3 separate regions of the Homo sapiens genome follow, and regions 1 and 3 are each linked to region 2. The links are contacts of gene promoters, found by promoter capture Hi-C in human tissues and cell types (Jung and others, 2019). All regions are on one chromosome and are shown on one strand. The core of a region is centred on a gene start or on the middle of the fragment in contact, and the rest is flanking DNA. Distances in the headings are between cores, read along the strand shown.

What was found. Contacts are between HindIII fragments. The study calls those that stand out against the background at their distance.
Region 1: a fragment that was not itself captured here is called in contact with the fragment with the promoter of MC4R in region 2 in 5 of the 25 tissues and cell types used here (dorsolateral prefrontal cortex, hippocampus, mesenchymal stem cells and 2 more).
Region 3: a contact is called between a fragment that was not itself captured here and the fragment with the promoter of MC4R in region 2, in 4 of the 25 tissues and cell types used here (heart left ventricle, mesendoderm cells, spleen and 1 more).

Annotation. Positions count from the first base shown.
Region 1 is chr18:60,423,713-60,428,196 of GRCh38, reverse strand. No RefSeq gene overlaps it. Among named protein-coding and RNA genes, the nearest start is that of MC4R, 53 kb to the right of the region's middle. The HindIII fragment of the contact is 6,143 bases long and covers 1-4,484 here.
Region 2 is chr18:60,370,107-60,374,731 of GRCh38, reverse strand. MC4R (melanocortin 4 receptor) reads left to right here and starts at 1,957. Exons shown (of 1, transcript NM_005912.3): 1 at 1,957-3,670. The coding sequence starts at 2,383. The coding sequence ends at 3,381. The HindIII fragment of the contact is 8,670 bases long and covers 1-2,825 here.
Region 3 is chr18:60,311,059-60,315,566 of GRCh38, reverse strand. No RefSeq gene overlaps it. Among named protein-coding and RNA genes, the nearest start is that of MC4R, 59 kb to the left of the region's middle. The HindIII fragment of the contact is 6,802 bases long and covers 1-4,508 here.

The DNA of each region.
Region 1 (4,484 bases), core at 302-2,801, 54 kb before region 2:
TCTTTTATGATTCTCCAGATCTCTTCTTCTTTGCCATTATATATCCTTAAGCACTCACTGTCTTGTACTTTTACATCTTTTTTACAATCTGACTCACAAAGTATTTGCATCTGTATTTTTACATACACACCTTTTGGATAAGCCTTTCAACTATTTTTATTTTCAAGTTCATTAATTTCAGTTTTATTTTATTATTTTCATCCTTTTAAAAAGTCTTATTTGCTCTTCTTTGCTCCCAAGTTTGTGTTATATATACCTGTTTTGGTTTTATTTATCTCTTTTTTAAAAAAATATGATGACATTTAAACTATAAATGTTCTACTGAGTTTTTCCAGGGCTGGCCTATGGTATAATGTGTTCTTTATTTCATTGCTTTCTAGATGGTTTATGATTTCCAATTTTAAAACTTCCTTTCCAAGAGACTATGATTCTCAATATCTAAGTAGTTTCAATGTTTGCGATCATTTTTTAATTATTTAATTGTATTGGATCATGATTAGATTATGTGATCTGTAATTTCTCTATTATTTTCACTTGTTAAGTTTTATTTTGGCACCAATTCTACAAATGTTTTTTGAACCTTAAGAGTATTTTCCATTTAAACTTATAGGTACCTATTTAAAATCATGATTATTGACTGTAGTACTTGATTTCTCCACCTCACTCCTTAATTTTGTCTGCAAGGCCTTTCTACTTGTGAGATAGCTACATCAATTGGTGTCATTATAACAAAACTTTCATAGATTTATCTGTTTTTAGATTTATTTGGTTCCACTGTTTTTTGTTTGGAGTACGCAGACATGTGCAGCTATATCTTCTTCCTAAACTTGCCTTTTTATCAATTGATTTTCAATGTTTTTAACATTAAGTTTCTTCTAATCAGTCTGATACTGATGTTTCCTCTTTTGCTTTAGTTTGTTTGTATTTATCTGGTATCCCTTTATTCACCCCTTTATGGTCAGCCTTTCCCTATCGCTGTGTTTTAAATGAATATCTCATAAAGTGAACAAAGTTGGATTTTCTTTTTGTAACGTACTGTTACAGTCCCTAATTTTCAAAAGGAAAATCTTATCTGTTTACATTTAGCTTAATTACTAAAACAAATTCTTTTAGTCTCTCCATCTTTTATTATTTAATATTTGTTTTACAGTGATTTTTAAGTTATTTTTTGCTGTTAAGAAAAAGGAACTATTCGTTGCATTTTCCCCTGGTTAATCCAGAAGTTTCACTCTAATTTTCCATTCTCAATATGGGTGGTTTCTTGTTCCCTGATCTCCTGCATTATAGAAACATGTTATTCAATATTTCCCTTATGAGAATATATATTCCTCTAATTAAAAGAGTCTATTTGTCTTTACTTCCTTGATACAAGTAATAGGAAATCTTTACAGTACTTACAATTATCTCTTTATCTCTTCCCTTTTTACTACTAGATGAAATCCTGGGAAGATTTTTACTCCCATTTTTATACGTATTTCCAAATCTTAGAAACTTGACTAGTTAAGTAGTTTCAGATTTTGTTTATTAAATTCTCCACGCAAAATCTCCCTCTATTTTACATCCCTATTTAGCAGTTATTTTAGACATTTCCAAATAGTCATCTTTAAGCATTGACCTAAAGATAGTACATCAAGGTTCACTCTGCAGTTCACCTGCTAGAATTGATTTAGTGTTTTATTTAGAAATTTCTGTTTATTCTTCTACCTCATAGCATACACATTAATGATAAATTTTCTAGGTATTATTGCATATTCTGACCAGTTAATGGTAACATTGGTTTTGACAGTCTTTTTCGTAGTCCGTTGTCTTCTAGCTACCTACAATGCAGATAAAAAGTCCCATGATAATTTATTCATTTTCCTTCGTAAGTAAATTTCTACTCCCACTGGCCATTAAGATAGAACTAAGCTACTTGTTCCCTACTTAAACACCTAGTGAAGCTTGTTTTCATATTATATCAGAGACAGAGAAAATTCAACCCACATTTTCAGTACCCCCTTAGCCACTTGAAAACAAGATAAACAAGGTAGACACTCACAGAGCCGAAGTTAACATTCTCCTCCAGCCCTCCAGAGTGTTCACAGATTTTTAGAGAGATAAGCTCATCACAAAGATGTGCATATTCCCAGATTTTGTTCCATAGTTTCTGATGCTAATCACCAAACACTTGCCTGACTTATGGAGGCAAAAGCCCCATGGTCTTTATCTCCTCGGGTACCCTACAGATCCCAACGCTTCACTTTTATCTAGCTGCCAACAGGACCGAGAAGTTATTTAACCTCATTCCTCAGTCCCAATGGGCTAAATTATGCTGTGTTAAAAATCATCTTCAAAATATCAGGGGCTTAAATGCATCTATCTTTCTCAGAATACATCTCTATAGCAGGTTGGCTGGGAGTTCTGATTTCCCTCACTCTGGAACTTAAGATGAGTGTGAACCATGTCTTGATTTTTGAGCTACACAGAGCCTCACACAAGCAATGAAATGTTCTGATCTGGAATTTGCATGGAGCTCTTCTGTTCATGACTCTGCCAGAACTAGTCACAGGATTTAACCCAAACACAAAAGGGCAGGAATCATGGGCCAGTATTCAGAGAGACAGAGATTTTTAGTTAACAAAACTAGAGACATTTTTCAGCTCAAGAGACATACATAACTTAGGAGTAGAGAGGAAAGTAGTCTCCTTCTGTCCTCCATATTTCCAGAATTTCTCTCTTAGGATATTAGCTCTTGGTCCTGGAAAGAGGGCCATTGGAAGTTTTATCAAGGCATGAGGGAGGGAATTCTAGAGCATGTATTCTAGACTGATGGCACATAGATGAGATGGAAGCAAGTAGCCTACTAAAAATAGGAAGGAAACTTAAAAGCTTAGCCTAACCCTAGGTGCACATTGCAGTCACCTGAAGTCTTTTCTATTTCTTTTTTTCTTTTTATTTATTTTTTGAGACAGGGTCTCACTTTGTCCCCCAGGCTGGAATGTAGTGGCGTGATCTCAGGTCACTGCAGCCTCGACCTCCCGGGTTCAAGTGATCCTCCTGCCTCAGCTCCCCAAGTAGCTGTTACTATACAGGTGTATGCCATCTCGCCTAGCTAATTTTTGTATTTTTAGTAGAGATGGGGTTTTGCCCTGGCCAACCTTGATCTCCTGAGCTCATGCAATCTAACAGCCTCGGCCTTCCAAAGTACTCTAAGATTATAGGCGTGAGCTGTTGCACATGGCCCCAGTTGAAAGCTTTTGAAGAAAATACCTATGCCTGGACCCCATCTACCATTATTTAATTTATTTGGTATAGGATGAGGGTCAGGCATAGTTGCCTAAAACCAAGGAAAGTATTTTAGGCAATTTTACCATAGAGAACATCTGAGCATCTTATTTTAGTAATCAATAGAGAATTATATGAGCATGCTACATAATTGAAACAACAAATCCTGTAAGAGGCAATATGATCTCAGAAGAGTAGGATACATTCATCAATGTCTTTGTCAAGATGAATTTTATTATGTATATTTAAGATATACGATGGTATATTTAGTGTATACATATATACATATACTATACTATATATACTATATGTAAATGTAGTAAGTATATATTAAATATACCTAATATTATATACTATGTATAATATACTTAGTATGATGTACTACATATACTTAGTATAGACTAAGTATATTAATATACTAAATATATACTAAATACTAAGTATTTAGTATGTTTATATAAAATACAGTATATAGTGTGTGTGTATATATATATATATATACACACACACTATACACACACACTAAATATACCACTGTATATCTTAAATATACATATATATACATGGTTACAATAGTGTAATAAATCAACAAGAACAAGTAGAAAGATCAAATGTAAGTAACCACTGTCTTAAAATATATGAGATACCCTAATCACTCTTACTGGAAAATAAGACCATAATTCCCTACCCTCAGATAATCTCCTATAGGTTATGAATAAAATAAAATATATATCAAGCTTCAAGTACAGAATTGCTCTTATCCTCCTAAAATTTTTCAACCAAGTTATTTGATTAGGAACTGATTTGCCAGTGTTTTTCTAACTTATCAAATAAAATATCATGATGTTTATTTTTTTCTTGATAAACTTAACTAAGGACATGTAATACCTTTAATTCAAGTGAAGATTTGATCATCAATTTTAAAGCATAAAGATTTAATGAAATTATTAATATGAACTGTGCTTCTAAAACACACTGCATTTTATTCCATTTCTATGTGATGCTTGTCCCAAAATATGTGACATAAGACCCAAACAGGTCCTAGACTTTAGCTTGTACCTTTTGAGAAACTCAAATTTACAGATTTATATAAGCAGCTCAATATATCTTTCAAAATTACTTTTGTATTTTATACCCACATAAATTAAGAACCCAGATATAAAATTACTTTCCTAAAATATTTATTCTAATTGAACTTTATGTTTCTTATTTTACACAAT
Region 2 (4,625 bases), core at 708-3,207:
AATGAGATTCAATCTCTACAAAATTATTTTTTAAAAGCTAGCTGGGTGTGGAGGTACATTTAGTTCCAGCTACTCAGGAGGCTGAAGTAGGAGGATCACTTGAACCTAGTGAGCCATGATCATGCCACTGCACTCCAGCCTGGGTGACAGAGCAAGATCCTGTTTTAATTTTTTAAAAATCAAATTCTGATTCACATTATAGTGTAAGCAAACCTTGAAAATATTATGCTACATGAAAACAGTGAGCCACAAAAGGCCACATATTGCATTATTTCAATCATATAAAATGTCTAAAATAGGCACATTGATAGAGACAGAAAGTAGATTAGCAGTTCCTAGAGGATAAGGAAAGGGTAAAATGGGGAGCAACTGCTAATGGGATAATGAAAATGTTTTAGAAATAGAAAGTGATGATTATGGCACAACTCTGTGAATATATTCCCCCAAAAATCCATTTAATTACTAAAGAGGTGATTTTTTTTGGTATGTGAATTATATGTCAATTTTTAAAAAGAGAAAAAATAAGGCAAGAGGAAGGTAAGATTATTTCCAGCTCATGATGTTCAGGAAAGCCCATTCCAGCATTTTACAATATACAGATGATTAGGCATTCAGAAATACAGGGGAAGGGAGTTGGAGGTGTGAGTTCTGCTCTGTGCAATCATTCAAGAGACAGGCTCCTTTCATGATATGGTCCTGCCACCTGTAACATGAGATTTCAAAGACAGGAGAGAAAACTTGTGTAAAATTATGAAAGAGCTAATGCGATGAGCCCCACTGTCAACATGCCATTAGCTAGAATTTAGTCATAAGGTCCTACCCAATTCCAAAGGTGGATGGAAGACGTTAATTTATCTCAATGCTCAGGAACAATACTTAGTATTGTCTCTGTCACAAAAGGAAAGAGGATACATTCCCAACCTAAGTAACTGAGATTCAGAATTAACCCTGAAATAAGCAGCTACAAACTATAGAGCACTAAAACCAAAAATAATCATAGAAGAAAAGAATATACAAAATTTTGTATAATCTGTTGTTCAGTTAATTTGGAAAGTAACTTTGCTGCCATCTTTCAAACCACCTTAAGCAAAATATTCAGAAACTTCAATAACTAACTAGTATCACCAGTCTTGGCTTGATAAGTAAAGTTACTAGGTATTTGTCGGTTCAACTTACGATACGTTAAACTCTGGAGGTTTAAAAAAAAGTTGCTTAAAAAAAAAAAACAGAATGCAGCTTATTATTTTCCTGAGTTCAGTGTAAGCATAGTTACATTAATGCCGTATGAGTTTAAAATATTGTAAATAAAAAGCACCTTTTTTCAGCTATAACACAAACTCCTCAATAGAGAAATATGGGATATTAGTGCATTAAAATCAACCCCTTTTGAACCCATTCATAATTTATAGCTACCTACATAGTTCTTCCAGCCATACCATGTCTATCTGTATCATTAAATATCCTCTCTGTTTTTCAGGTATTTTAACTGAACCACTACTGGCTGGGTTCTTAATAAAAACAAAAAATTAAGAAGGTAAATAAATTCAGTATCCTAGCCAAAAAGCAGAGTATCTGTTTCAGGAACATAAGACAGTATACTTTCCATTTCATTTTACACACACACATGATGTCTTTTACATAAGAATGAACCTGGCTGCCTGAAGATAGCTTGTTTTGATATCACAGAATGGCCTCTAGGGATCAAGTTGTTTCCCTTGAAAACTTAAAAAGGGAAATTCAGTCTCTTATCCGGCTTGCTTCTCGACTTCAGACTTCAGGAGCTTCTGCATCTGAATCTGTGTCACCCTGCAATTTGTGTCTCTGAAACATAATCCTGTCTCACAGACTCCCATTGCATTGGGATTGGTCAGAAGGAAGCAGAGGAGGAGCCACCGTGAACATGTTTTTTTTCTCTCCACACATCATAAAAATCAGCAGCTGGCGCCTACAGCCCCTAACACTCAAAGCAACGCTCAGGCTGGAAACAGAAGCTTCCGAGAGGCAGCCGATGTGAGCATGTGCGCACAGATTCGTCTCCCAATGGCATGGCAGCTTCAAGGAAAATTATTTTGAACAGACTTGAATGCATAAGATTAAAGTTAAAGCAGAAGTGAGAACAAGAAAGCAAAGAGCAGACTCTTTCAACTGAGAATGAATATTTTGAAGCCCAAGATTTTAAAGTGATGATGATTAGAGTCGTACCTAAAAGAGACTAAAAACTCCATGTCAAGCTCTGGACTTGTGACATTTACTCACAGCAGGCATGGCAATTTTAGCCTCACAACTTTCAGACAGATAAAGACTTGGAGGAAATAACTGAGACGACTCCCTGACCCAGGAGGTTAAATCAATTCAGGGGGACACTGGAATTCTCCTGCCAGCATGGTGAACTCCACCCACCGTGGGATGCACACTTCTCTGCACCTCTGGAACCGCAGCAGTTACAGACTGCACAGCAATGCCAGTGAGTCCCTTGGAAAAGGCTACTCTGATGGAGGGTGCTACGAGCAACTTTTTGTCTCTCCTGAGGTGTTTGTGACTCTGGGTGTCATCAGCTTGTTGGAGAATATCTTAGTGATTGTGGCAATAGCCAAGAACAAGAATCTGCATTCACCCATGTACTTTTTCATCTGCAGCTTGGCTGTGGCTGATATGCTGGTGAGCGTTTCAAATGGATCAGAAACCATTGTCATCACCCTATTAAACAGTACAGATACGGATGCACAGAGTTTCACAGTGAATATTGATAATGTCATTGACTCGGTGATCTGTAGCTCCTTGCTTGCATCCATTTGCAGCCTGCTTTCAATTGCAGTGGACAGGTACTTTACTATCTTCTATGCTCTCCAGTACCATAACATTATGACAGTTAAGCGGGTTGGGATCATCATAAGTTGTATCTGGGCAGCTTGCACGGTTTCAGGCATTTTGTTCATCATTTACTCAGATAGTAGTGCTGTCATCATCTGCCTCATCACCATGTTCTTCACCATGCTGGCTCTCATGGCTTCTCTCTATGTCCACATGTTCCTGATGGCCAGGCTTCACATTAAGAGGATTGCTGTCCTCCCCGGCACTGGTGCCATCCGCCAAGGTGCCAATATGAAGGGAGCGATTACCTTGACCATCCTGATTGGCGTCTTTGTTGTCTGCTGGGCCCCATTCTTCCTCCACTTAATATTCTACATCTCTTGTCCTCAGAATCCATATTGTGTGTGCTTCATGTCTCACTTTAACTTGTATCTCATACTGATCATGTGTAATTCAATCATCGATCCTCTGATTTATGCACTCCGGAGTCAAGAACTGAGGAAAACCTTCAAAGAGATCATCTGTTGCTATCCCCTGGGAGGCCTTTGTGACTTGTCTAGCAGATATTAAATGGGGACAGAGCACGCAATATAGGAACATGCATAAGAGACTTTTTCACTCTTACCCTACCTGAATATTGTACTTCTGCAACAGCTTTCTCTTCCGTGTAGGGTACTGGTTGAGAATATCCATTGTGTAAATTTAAGCCTATGATTTTTAATGAGAAAAAATGCCCAGTCTCTGTATTATTTCCAATGTCATGCTACTTTTTTGGCCATAAAATATGAATCTATGTTATAGGTTGTAGGCACTGTGGATTTACAAAAAGAAAAGTCCTTATTAAAAGCTTAACAATGTCTCCTTCGTGTTATTCATAAGCATTGGACACTTTGCGTGCTTTCGTAACATAGAAATCAGAGCCTCATTAAACATATTCTAATAAATGCTTTATTATATTATATTATCCACCATTGAAATGTAGAGAGTTCATTCTAGCAGTTAAGGGAAAATATTTAAAGAATAGATGTATAATCATTTTTAAAAATATCATCACTGAAATTTCAAGTAATTTAATTAAAGGTTTGTTCATCCTCCCTGTGCAGAAGTAGAAATGAAGCTCCTCTAGAGAGAAAAACAGGTGCTGAAAAAAGAGAGATGCTGAGTTAGAAAACTATGTGTACTTCTCAGACACAGAAAGATTCATCTCCCTTAGCAAACAGCCTGATATTTCACACAGGCAATTCGGTTTGGGGTGGGTGGGAAAAGGCAGCTATAGGGATGAAAGTGTCCTGGAAAACCTAAGTTGCCATGTCAAGCTAAATTTCCTGTTACCAAATTATCCCTAAACAATATTAATAAAACAGAGAATGGGGATTTATGCCCCCTTTAAACAAGGATTCAGGGTCTGCTGAAGTGTCCAGAAAAGGTAATATTGTACTGAGAGATTTAGCTTCCTGTTTCTAGAGAAGTACAGGACTGACATCGAATTCTTTCTCATTTCACATGAAAATGACTTGCTGTTTACTTATTGCTGATTTTTTGAACTGGAGTACAAATGTTGATTATCAAGGATTTTAAACTTCAAAACCAAATTCATAGCAGAAGTGTTTTCTGGCAATATTTGTAAATAACTAAAATAAAGGTATCTGTGATGCTGGTACATTTTAAGCAGGAAGGGAGGCACCTACCAAACCCCAGAGGATGTCATGCAATAAACTAGCCTTCCACAGCCACTTCTTGAAGAGTAAAATGTTTTGCTCCAAAATAATCCTACAGATTTGGCCACTGAGCAATAAAATTTGTACTGTACTTTC
Region 3 (4,508 bases), core at 814-3,313, 59 kb after region 2:
AAATGTGAGGCTTTGACAAGTTGAATGGCATGGCCAGGCCATTCAGAATTGACCTATATCTGAACCCAGGTCCATCTTCAGATCTCTTTCTTTTAATAATGCAGTTATAACATCTCTTATATCCTATAAATATAAGAATATTTGAAAAACTTTACAAAAAGGAAAAAAATTACCCATTTATTGCAGATATAATATACTATTCTTCAAATATATGCTATGATGGATCTATTTTACCACTTACATGTTTTTGACACTCCCATATTTTTTGTTTCATCTTTCCCAATCTACAGAATACTACTAGACTGAGAGAAAATTCTGAAAGCAGAGCCAAGTATTTGGGTATATGTGTGTGTGTGTGTGTGTGTAGTACAGCAAAAAAAATATCTATTTTTCTGTCATTTGAAATTAATATACAGACACAGCTTGGAGAGATAAACTTACCTTGATTTACAGCTATTTTAAATTTCTTGTAAGTTGCTTGAAAAATTATAAATTGCCAGCACGACTTTATTATTCATTTTATTTTCACATCAGCCCAGTTAATTAAAAATTCTTTAAGTGTCAAACTGAGGTGCTCAGTTAGCATGTGAAACAGCCCTAGACTTTTATATTTTTACTTTTCTTTAGAACTATCAATAATTTGTCATGTCTTAAATATAAAAAAGTAAAAATTAACTGATTAAAGTTAATTAAGGTAAAATTAACTTTTCACTTTTCTCAAATATTTATTGGAAAGAGATAAATTGTTAATCCTTTGTCTGATTCTTGGAAATAGATAAATCTTGGAAATATACAGGCATGAGTCCGATTCCATGGAATGAAAGGGATGTATAAGAGAGCTAGAAGTTTAAACAAAAATAGAAAAAGAAAGGAAAGAAGGAAGGGAGAAAGGGAGAGAGGGAAGGAGAATTTAAACCTTTGAGTAGGAAAAGAAACAATTGAACAGTTATATTACATTAAAAACTATGTTACAAAATAACTAATTAGCCTTTGTATTTTCCGTAAGGAGACCAATATTCCAAACTGGAAAGGAAGGCACAAACCATTAGCAGAAAAGTGTACTTTAAAAGAAATATAAAGTAGATATCAATTAGAAGACTTTATGATCACTAATAGAGGATGAATATTATTCCTAATAGAAATGTAAACTGGAACCATCTTTATAGAAGCAATTTGAAAATATGCACATTCTTAAAAGTATTCTTATTACTGCATTGCTTCTATGATGAAAGATCAAAAGAGCCCAAATGCTTAAATAATAGAATGTGGATTATATAACAGAACACACATCATAGCATATTATGAATTATTGATTTTAAAATATTTAAGAATGCATATTTAATATTTACAGCTACATCAAACTAAAATGCTTTCATACAACAAAGGAAACAAACAACAAAATGAAAAAGAAGCTTACACATTAGGAGAAAATATTGGCAAACCACATATCTGATAAGGGGTTAATATCCAAATTATATAACAAACAATAGCAAACAAAGTAAACAAAAAAATCCACAAGTAACCCAGTTTAAAAATTGGCATCTGAATAAACATTTTTCCAAAGAAGACACATAAATTGCCAATAGGTATATTAAAGGGTGCTCAACATCACTAATCATGAGGGAAATGTAATCAAAACAACAATGAAATATCATCTCTCACCTTTTAGGATGGCTTTTATCAAGAGGCCAAGAAATAACAAGTGTTTGTATGAATAGAGAGATAGGAAACACATGTACACTCTTGGTGGGAATGTAGATTGGTGTGACCACTGTGGAAAACAGTGTGGGTGTCCCCAAAGAAATTAAAAATAGAATTACCATATGATCCAGTGCTCCCATGTTCATTGCAGCATTTCTCACAATAGCCAACATACAAAAACAACTGATGAGTTTGTTGACAGATGAATGAAGAAACTATAATGGAATATTATTCAGCCTTTTAAAATTATATGTCTAAATAACAAGTTCTTTCAAAAAGAGTTATTAAAAATCTAAGATTTTTTTAAAGCATTGTAATACAGTGGCATTCTTAACAGCACAAGAAAAATTATATTTAATAATTGATGGTTCTAGACTCAATAGAATAGCAGAATCTCATTTTTTCTTTAAAAATAAATTGTGTAGGTATATTTTTATAAAAGTATGACAAATACAAACACAAAACAAGGTTAAAAATTATCATCTTTTTTTGATATATTTCTACATTTTTCTATGAAAAGGATGTACAGTTGACCTTTGAACAACAAGGGGGTTAGGAAGTACCTACCCTCTTGCAGTTCAAAATCTGTGTATAACTTTTAACTCCCCCAAAACTAAACTATTAATAGTCTACTGATGACTGGAAGCCTTACCGATAATATCAGTAGCCAGTTAACACATATTTTGTAGGTTATACATATTATATACTGTATTCTTACAATAAAGCAAGCTAGAAAAAGAAAATGTTACTAATAAAATCAAACAGGTGAGAAAATGTATTTACTATTCATTAAGTGGAAGTGGATCATCATGAAGGTTTCTATCCTCATTGCCTTCACATTGAGTAGGATGAGTGGGAGGGGAAAGAGGGGGACTTGGTCTTGCTATCTCTGCAGTAGAAGAGGTAGAGGAGGTGAAAAGGAGGCAGGAGAAGCAGGAACACTTGGTGTAACTCTTTTCTTTTTTTTAAATGTGTGTGTAAGTGAACCTGAGCAGTTCAAACCCACATTATTCAAGGGCCAATTTGTATGTTTTTTAATCAAACTAAAAGATAATGTTTTTTCATAAGGTAGAAACTAGACATTATTTCAAGTAATACTAATTACTTCATGTCTTCATAGCCAAACAAATTACTTTCTAGGTGTAAAAAAAATAGTGCTGTGATCCCCAATCTATTTTCAAGATAAGAAAACCTATTTTGACATAGGTTTTGGAAAAGGTTTGAAATGGAAGACAAGTACAAAGACTACAGAACGAGATAACACTAGAGGTAGGGCTAAATTGGCCAGGAGAGTACAAGAGTCATCTTCAGGAACCTTTGAGGAAATAGGAATATATGGAATTAAAATGCTGTTTGAAATATTATTTATAATAATTTTTTCACTTTTTTCTTCTTTCTCTTCTTTCACTTCTCTTTCTCTTTTCTACCTTCACATAAACATAAAAGTAATATGTAAAATGTCAATATGCATGTCAACTTTCACATATAAATCTTTTCACTATTTTAATTGCTAAGGTATAATATTTCACCTATATTTTGCATTAAATTAGGCTTGTTGCCTTGCAAACTAAACTTTTTTAAAAAATGCATTTCACATGCCAAATAGTCCCCTAATGAGCTCTTAGATAGCATTCAATTTATAAAATTGTTTTCTAAAGAAAGATAATCCTGCTCACTGTTAACTTGCCAAAAGTTCCCTTGTTGAGCAACAAAAAGACTCAGAGCATTTTCACCAACTACTTCCTCTAAGCAAATATCTTTCATGCTATTCCAATGTTAGCTTAATAGAAGCTGTGTTGTTAATATAAACTATCATGACTGATATATACTTTAAATAAGTGAACCATCAAAATATTGCTGATAACTTGTACTAGGTCTTGTGTTAATTTTATAAGTAAGTATGATGTGTTTTATAGAGTTTTAATTCAATCTACTTTTAAGTATTTCACTGTGTGAGATTTCTGAAGATTACTTATATAAGGGCAGATAATGAACTATGGAGTAAACAGTTGAAAACATCACATAAATTCTTTTGTAGTCATGGTGATGAAGTCACCTTTGACCTGATTTTCAACACTAATGTCAGAAAAATAAAGAAAAGAAATAGTGTTTCATTGAACAATAGTAGCCTTTAAAAAAGTGTTTTCGAATGTCTTCTGGTTTATACCTCAAGTGAAACTGAAAAGATTTTGAGAGTCCCCCAAAAAATTCTTACAGTGGTGAAATATATACTTGTCAGTCTCCTTATACACAATAACTTCTTAGCTAAAATAGTAATTTTTCATCAGGATTTATAGTGGAGAACATTCTTAAACAAGAGATTTCCCTTGTTTTTGCCAAGAACATGTGCCAGTTCATCCAAATTATTAATAAACTTAATACAATTCACCTGAAAATGGTTCTGCATGGGCTCTATTTTTCTATTCTAAAATATTTTAAAGGGCCCCTTCTGGCAGTAATTTAATAATTTTTTTCTGGGAAAGCCAGAAAATTTGAACCATACCAAAATTTGTACTCAGTTCTCTGAAGGCAGGTGTGGCACATCATTATATCATCTCTTAAAGAGGTAGCTGAGCTCATTTTTAGACTCAAAAATAGAGAATTTTTTTCCTAAAGAACATGTTACATTTGCTTTTTTAAATGTACAGGTATATTTAAAGGCAAAGTTTCAAGGTTCTCAGGTGGTGATAGTTTTGACAGTGTACTACAGTAGATCTGACATTGGTTTACATTACAAGTGTGTCTACTAGAAAAATAAATAGCCCTTGGCATAAATTATCAATGTATTTATCCAAGGTAATCAATGA